Regions from separate parts of the Homo sapiens genome. Here region 2 is linked to region 1. The links are contacts of gene promoters, found by promoter capture Hi-C in blood cells and fetal thymus (Javierre and others, 2016). All regions are on one chromosome and are shown on one strand. Each heading gives the region's core, a stretch centred on a gene start or on the middle of the fragment in contact. The rest is flanking DNA. Distances are from core to core; before and after follow the strand shown. Region 1 holds the start of AGRP (agouti related neuropeptide). Region 2 overlaps PSKH1 (protein serine kinase H1).

Evidence for each region. The method cuts DNA at HindIII sites, captures the fragments that hold promoters and counts their contacts. A CHiCAGO score of 5 or more calls a contact.
Region 2: a fragment that was not itself captured here is called in contact with the fragment with the promoter of AGRP in region 1 in 4 of 17 cell types (fetal thymus, naive B cells, activated CD4 T cells and 1 more); the score reaches 6.8 in fetal thymus.

What each region holds. Positions count from the first base shown.
Region 1 is chr16:67,482,257-67,484,956 of GRCh38, forward strand. AGRP (agouti related neuropeptide) reads right to left here and starts at 1,291. Exons shown (of 4, transcript NM_001138.2): 1 at 1,261-1,291; 2 at 1,013-1,145; 3 at 769-854; 4 at 315-562. The coding sequence starts at 1,142. The coding sequence ends at 380. ATP6V0D1-DT (ATP6V0D1 divergent transcript) reads left to right here. Exons shown (of 4, transcript NR_184227.1): 2 at 1,854-2,072. The HindIII fragment of the contact is 2,406 bases long and covers 1-1,603 here.
Region 2 is chr16:67,925,245-67,927,954 of GRCh38, forward strand. PSKH1 (protein serine kinase H1) reads left to right here. Exons shown (of 3, transcript NM_006742.3): 3 at 2,081-2,710. The coding sequence ends at 2,398. Among named protein-coding and RNA genes, the nearest start is that of CTRL, 5.3 kb to the right of the region's middle. RefSeq lists an enhancer at 1,728-2,229. The HindIII fragment of the contact is 3,315 bases long and covers 1-2,710 here.

The DNA of each region.
Region 1 (2,700 bases), core at 41-2,540:
TGCGTGGAAGTAGCAGCAAGCCCTGGAGCCTAAGGCTTATTTGTTAGCCAGGAGTGATAGCCCCTGTGCCACGCTGCGTCCTGCGTTCCCCGCACTTGCTGTACAAGATTTTCGAAAGCTGGAGTGCGGCTCTTCTCTATTTTTCCCAGGGGCACCAGGACCCCTAAAAGCGCCCGTGTATGTGCCTCCTATGATAGGGTAGCCCAGGCCCTGGGATAAGAGTATGTGTGGTTTCTTGGCTTGGTGACACTCCCACCCCCTCCATGAACCCTCCCTCCTTTGACGGCCACGTTTGAAATAACCACAGCCTTGGGGTTGGTCCCATCCTTTATTCGAGTTTCCTTGCCCCTACCCTAGCCCCGACCCTGACGTTGGCCAGCTAGGTGCGGCTGCAGGGATTCATGGCAGTACCCAGCTTGCGGCAGTAGCAGAAGGCATTGAAGAAGCGGCAGTAGCACGTGGCACATGGGTCACAGCAAGGCACCTGCTGTCCCAGGCAGGACTCATGCAGCCTTACGCAGCGACGTGAGGAGCGGGGCTCGCGGTCCTGCAGGTCTAGTACCTGCAGGGGTGGGGAACCAGCACAGGCCTCTAAAGACAGATCCAGGGATCTTACCTGTCCCAACCTGTGCAGGATGGCAGTGGAGCATGGGAAGGGGTGGTCGGTAGTGTCGTCGCTGGTGAGGGAGTTTGGAGCTGGGGAGAGGAGCTAATACCCAATGCCCCCTCCCAAGGGCCACCACCTTACCCTTTTCCCTGAGCAGTTACCTCTGCCAAGGCCTGAGCCTCCTGCAACAGATCCTCTTCTGCCTGTTCTGCAGTTGTCTTCTTCAGTGGGGCCCGCAGGCCCAGGCCTGGGGCAGAGGATGTGAGGGCAGGAACCCCCATGCACAAAGCACCCACCTCCCAGGGGAGGGTTTGGGAAGGGAGAAAGAGGGTTTATGCCAGGGGAGACTATTTGTGGCCAGAGGGTATTCAGGCCCCGCCCAGTCCCACCCTTGCTCACACTGACCTGGGAGCTCTGGGAGCAGGGCCTGGTCAGGCCTTCTGATGCCCTCCATGGGGGCCAAGCCCATCTGGGCTCCTCGCGTGGCAGGCAGTGCCAGCAGCAGGGCACAGCTCAGCACCGCTGCGGTCAGCATGGCCTGGCTCAGCAGGAAGATGTACCACTTAGTCCCTCCTTATCCTTGGAGTCCCCTCTAGGTGCCCAGATAGAGACCCCACAGAGAGGAGGAGTCCCTGCCCAACCTGAGGACTCACCTCTGCCTCCGGGATTCTTGCCTAGAGAGTTCCCGGCCACCCCGTGCCCTTGGCTTATATGGCAGGGCCTAATGAAGGGCCACACGTGACTGATCCCTGCAGCCAGGCCGTGAAGGACCCTTCCTGGAGGGTGGGGGCACAGTTCAGGCCCTCACTCCCTGAACCTGAGCCTTTTGTTCTACAAGAGGAGTGCCTATCTCCAATTTGGGGTGAGGTTTCCAGGAGCCGATTAAAATTTGGGAGCAAGAGAGGGTGCCCAGGGTCCACAAATTTCCACAGGACAGGGACCTAGGAGCTGAGCAGGGCTAGAACCATTAGCAATAACAAGGCAGGCGGCCCTGAAAGCTTAATTTAATTTGTGGCCCCAGAGATGCTTACTCAACCCCTATGTGGCATGTTGTTTCCTGTGCTTCCAAGAATTCGGGTCAAGGACATTGGAGCGGGTGATGGGCCAATGGCCACTGTTGGGCAGGGGTAGGTGCAGAACCAGAACCTGGGTTTCTTTGGAGGGAAAGGGGAAGGAAAAGCCCACCTAACCAATCCTAGGCCCTCCTGACTACATTTCTGGTCCTCCCCTCCCTTTCTCCCTCCAGGTTTCTCCAAGACCGCCCACTCCTGCTCCTGTCCCCAAACCCCTTTCTGCCTAGGGTTCCTGGAAGCCAAGGAAACAGAACGAACTGTTCCCTGGGTGGGCGAGCCACTGCAGAGTACAAAGCTTTCAGGCCGCCTGCCTCATTAGCACTAATGGCTGCTCCCTTCCGCCCTGTGTCGTCAGGACTGTCTATGCCTGGTCTCATCAGCACAAGGCTGGGGTAAGGACTGCCCTTTTGTGGAGATGGCAGGACATACAGGACCCTGCTGCCCCTGCCTTCCCTCACCCCACTGCAGAGCTGTTTATCACACACGTGTCCATCTGGGAAAGGAATGCAGGCTGAATCAGCTTTGAGAGGATCGCAAGGCCCCAGTGCACAAACTGGGTTGGCACAAGGCAGTGGAAAAAAGATGAAGGGGGCCAGGTATGGTGGCTCACACCTGTAATTCCAGCATTTTGAGAGGCCAAGGTGGGAGGATCACAAGGCCAGGGGTTTAAGACCAGCCTGGGTATCATGGTGAGACCCCGTTGCTACAAAAAATAAAAAAATAGCTGGGTGTAGTGGTGCATGCCTGTAGTAGAGGCTGAGGTGGGAGGATGGCTTGAGCACAGGGATTCAAGAGTGCAGTGAGCTATGACTGCATCACCACACTCCAGGCTGAGCGACAGAGCAAGATCCTGTCTCAAAAAGAAAAGAAGATAAAGGGTGGCCAGGCACGGTGGCTCACGCCTGTAATCCCAGCATTTTGGGAGGCCAAGGTGGGCGGATCACTGGAGGTCAGGAGTTCAAACCAGCTTGGCCAATATGGTGAAACCCTATCTCTACTAAAAATACAAAAGTTATTCAG
Region 2 (2,710 bases), core at 1-2,500, 440 kb after region 1:
GAGTGCAGTGGTGCGATCTTGGCTCACTGCAACCTCCGCCTCTCAGGTTCAAGCAATTCTCCTGCCTCAGCTTCCTGAGTAGCTGGGACTACAGGCACGCCACCACGCCCGACTAATTTTTGTATTTTTAGTAGAGACGGGGTTTCACCATGTTGGCCAGGATGGTCTTGATCTCATGACCTTGTGATCCACCTGCCTCAGCCTCCCAAAGTGCTGGGATTACAGGCATGAGCCACCACGCCTGGCCCTCAATATGAATCTTGAACTACACAAGCCCCCAGGAGACTTACCTGCCTGTCGGGGAGGGCTGTTGCTCTCTGCGCCCACCCACAGCCCTTGGATAGTAAGGCATCTATGGGCCTTCGTTGGCTGCATGCTCCTGGACCCTGACTTTCCTCCTCCTGGGGGCCAGCATCTCCCCAGGAGTCACTGGGTGCTGCTGGCCCACTGATGAGGATGACCCTGTTAGGTGTGTTTGGGAATATGGTTCCCCTGTTGCTCCCACTTCAGCTCAGTAAAACTTGGAATAACCTTCCAAAGAGTGGGTGAAGACAGCAGCTGCAGGTAGCCCCAGGCCTTCCTCAGGACGGTGGAAGCGTGTTCTCCCTGCCTCATCCCTCTGTGGCAGTGGGGAAGGGGGTAGGGAAAGAGTTGGAGGTCAGGCGAGCCAGACTGGGAGTAGCAGTAGTCAGTGAGTGTGTGTGTCTGCTAGATGGCTGTGCACCTGCCCTGAAGGTGGTCTCTCAGATCCTCCTGAACCCCCTGGAGGGCATGTTCAGGGGTTCCTCAAGGTGAAGGGTACCATGGGTGGTGAAGGGTACCATGGGTGGAACAGGCAGACCTCACCTGGCAGGAAGGAAAGTGAGGGGATCGTTAGCATCCCTGTTGAGTCATCTGCAGCAGGCTCAGGAAAGGTCCTAGCTGCCTATCCTTGGGGGAGCCTCAGAGCCCGTGCCAGAAGTGTTCCTAGGAGATGCAGGGACGCAAGGACTCACCTGGCTGAGCCCCAAGGCCTGGAAGCAGCTCCAGGAAAGGGCACCCATCCGGCAGCACCGTGGGTTGTTTACTGTCTGAGCCTGTGCCTACTGAGTGCTTCCTGTATGCGCAGCACCAGGCACGGGCTCATCCAGCTCAGCATGATCTCATGGGAATACTAAACGAACATGAAATTGCAGTCTCACGTTACAGCTGGAATAATTGCTGGAAGCACTGGGGGCTAAGAGGGAGTCTGAGCAAGTGTCCTTTACCCTGAGAACCTGAGGATCCAGTCAGGTGAAGACAGCCGTACAACCTGAGGCCCTGAGACAGACAGCTGCTGGGTTCGGGGCTGAGATGAGGCAGCCCGGGGTGCATGTGGCAGAGTGGGCTTTATGGAGTTCCTCCCAGGGGACAGAATGTACTAAAATGAGGCTGGCGCACAGCACTGCCAGGAGCCCTTTGTGGCTTAGAGAAGTAATGCGGGCCAGAGGGTGCCACTGAGAAGGGTCCTGGTTCCTTCCTGGTCCCGGGATCGCCTGCCCTCAGCCGACTGGGAAATCTAGTTGCCTTGAATTGTTTCCTTTCCTCCCCATGCCGGGAGGCAGAGGCAGGGAGCAGTGGTCTTCTGCCACTGCTTCGGCAGTTGGAGAGAGGTTGGATCTTCTCTGTAAGGACTAGGAAGTTCCCCTTTAAGTAGCCTGATCCTGGTCATCCAGAGATTGGAGCTTCAATCTGACTTAGGATGTGGTGGGAAAGTTTGAATCATTCTCTAACAGTCCCCTGAGTTATGATACTCCTGGGACAAGTTCGGGGGGGTCTTGGCAGAGGCCATCTCCCTGAGCCAGGCTTTGGGTCCAGTGCACCATAGAATTTGCTCCCTGGGAGAGTGCACAGGTCCTTTCCTTCCTTGCCAGACTCCATCACCTGGAGAGCAGCCCTTGTTCAGCCTGAGCCAGCGTTGGGCGGGGAGGCCCCAAGTGCTACATGAGAGGAGGGGCAGCACCTCTCTCTGGAAAGGGGAGGGTTGCTGAGTAGTGGCCTCATCCAGATGGGGTGGGCAGTGTCAGATGCTCTCACTCTAATGCTTGTCCTTGGTCTCTAGCCCTGGCCTAGTGTGTCCAACCTGGCCAAGGACTTCATTGACCGCCTGCTGACAGTGGACCCTGGAGCCCGTATGACTGCACTGCAGGCCCTGAGGCACCCGTGGGTGGTGAGCATGGCTGCCTCTTCATCCATGAAGAACCTGCACCGCTCCATATCCCAGAACCTCCTTAAACGTGCCTCCTCGCGCTGCCAGAGCACCAAATCTGCCCAGTCCACGCGTTCCAGCCGCTCCACACGCTCCAATAAGTCACGCCGTGTGCGGGAACGGGAGCTGCGGGAGCTCAACCTGCGCTACCAGCAGCAATACAATGGCTGAGCCGCCTGGCTGTGCACACATGCAGCACGACCCAGCCTGGCCACACACTGTGGTGCCATCTGGGTCCGATGCCCTCTCTGGAGATAGGCCTATGTGGCCCACAGTAGGTGAAGAATGTCTGGCTCCAGCCCTTTCTCTGTGCCTTCAGCAGCCCCTGTCCTCACCATGGGCCTGGGCCAGGTGTGACAGAGTAGAGGTAGCACAGGGGGCTGTGACTCCCCCTGAACTGGGAGCCTGGCCTGGCACTGATACCCCTCTTGGTGGGCAGCTGCTCTGGTGGAGTTGGGAAGGGATAGGACCTGGCCTTCACTG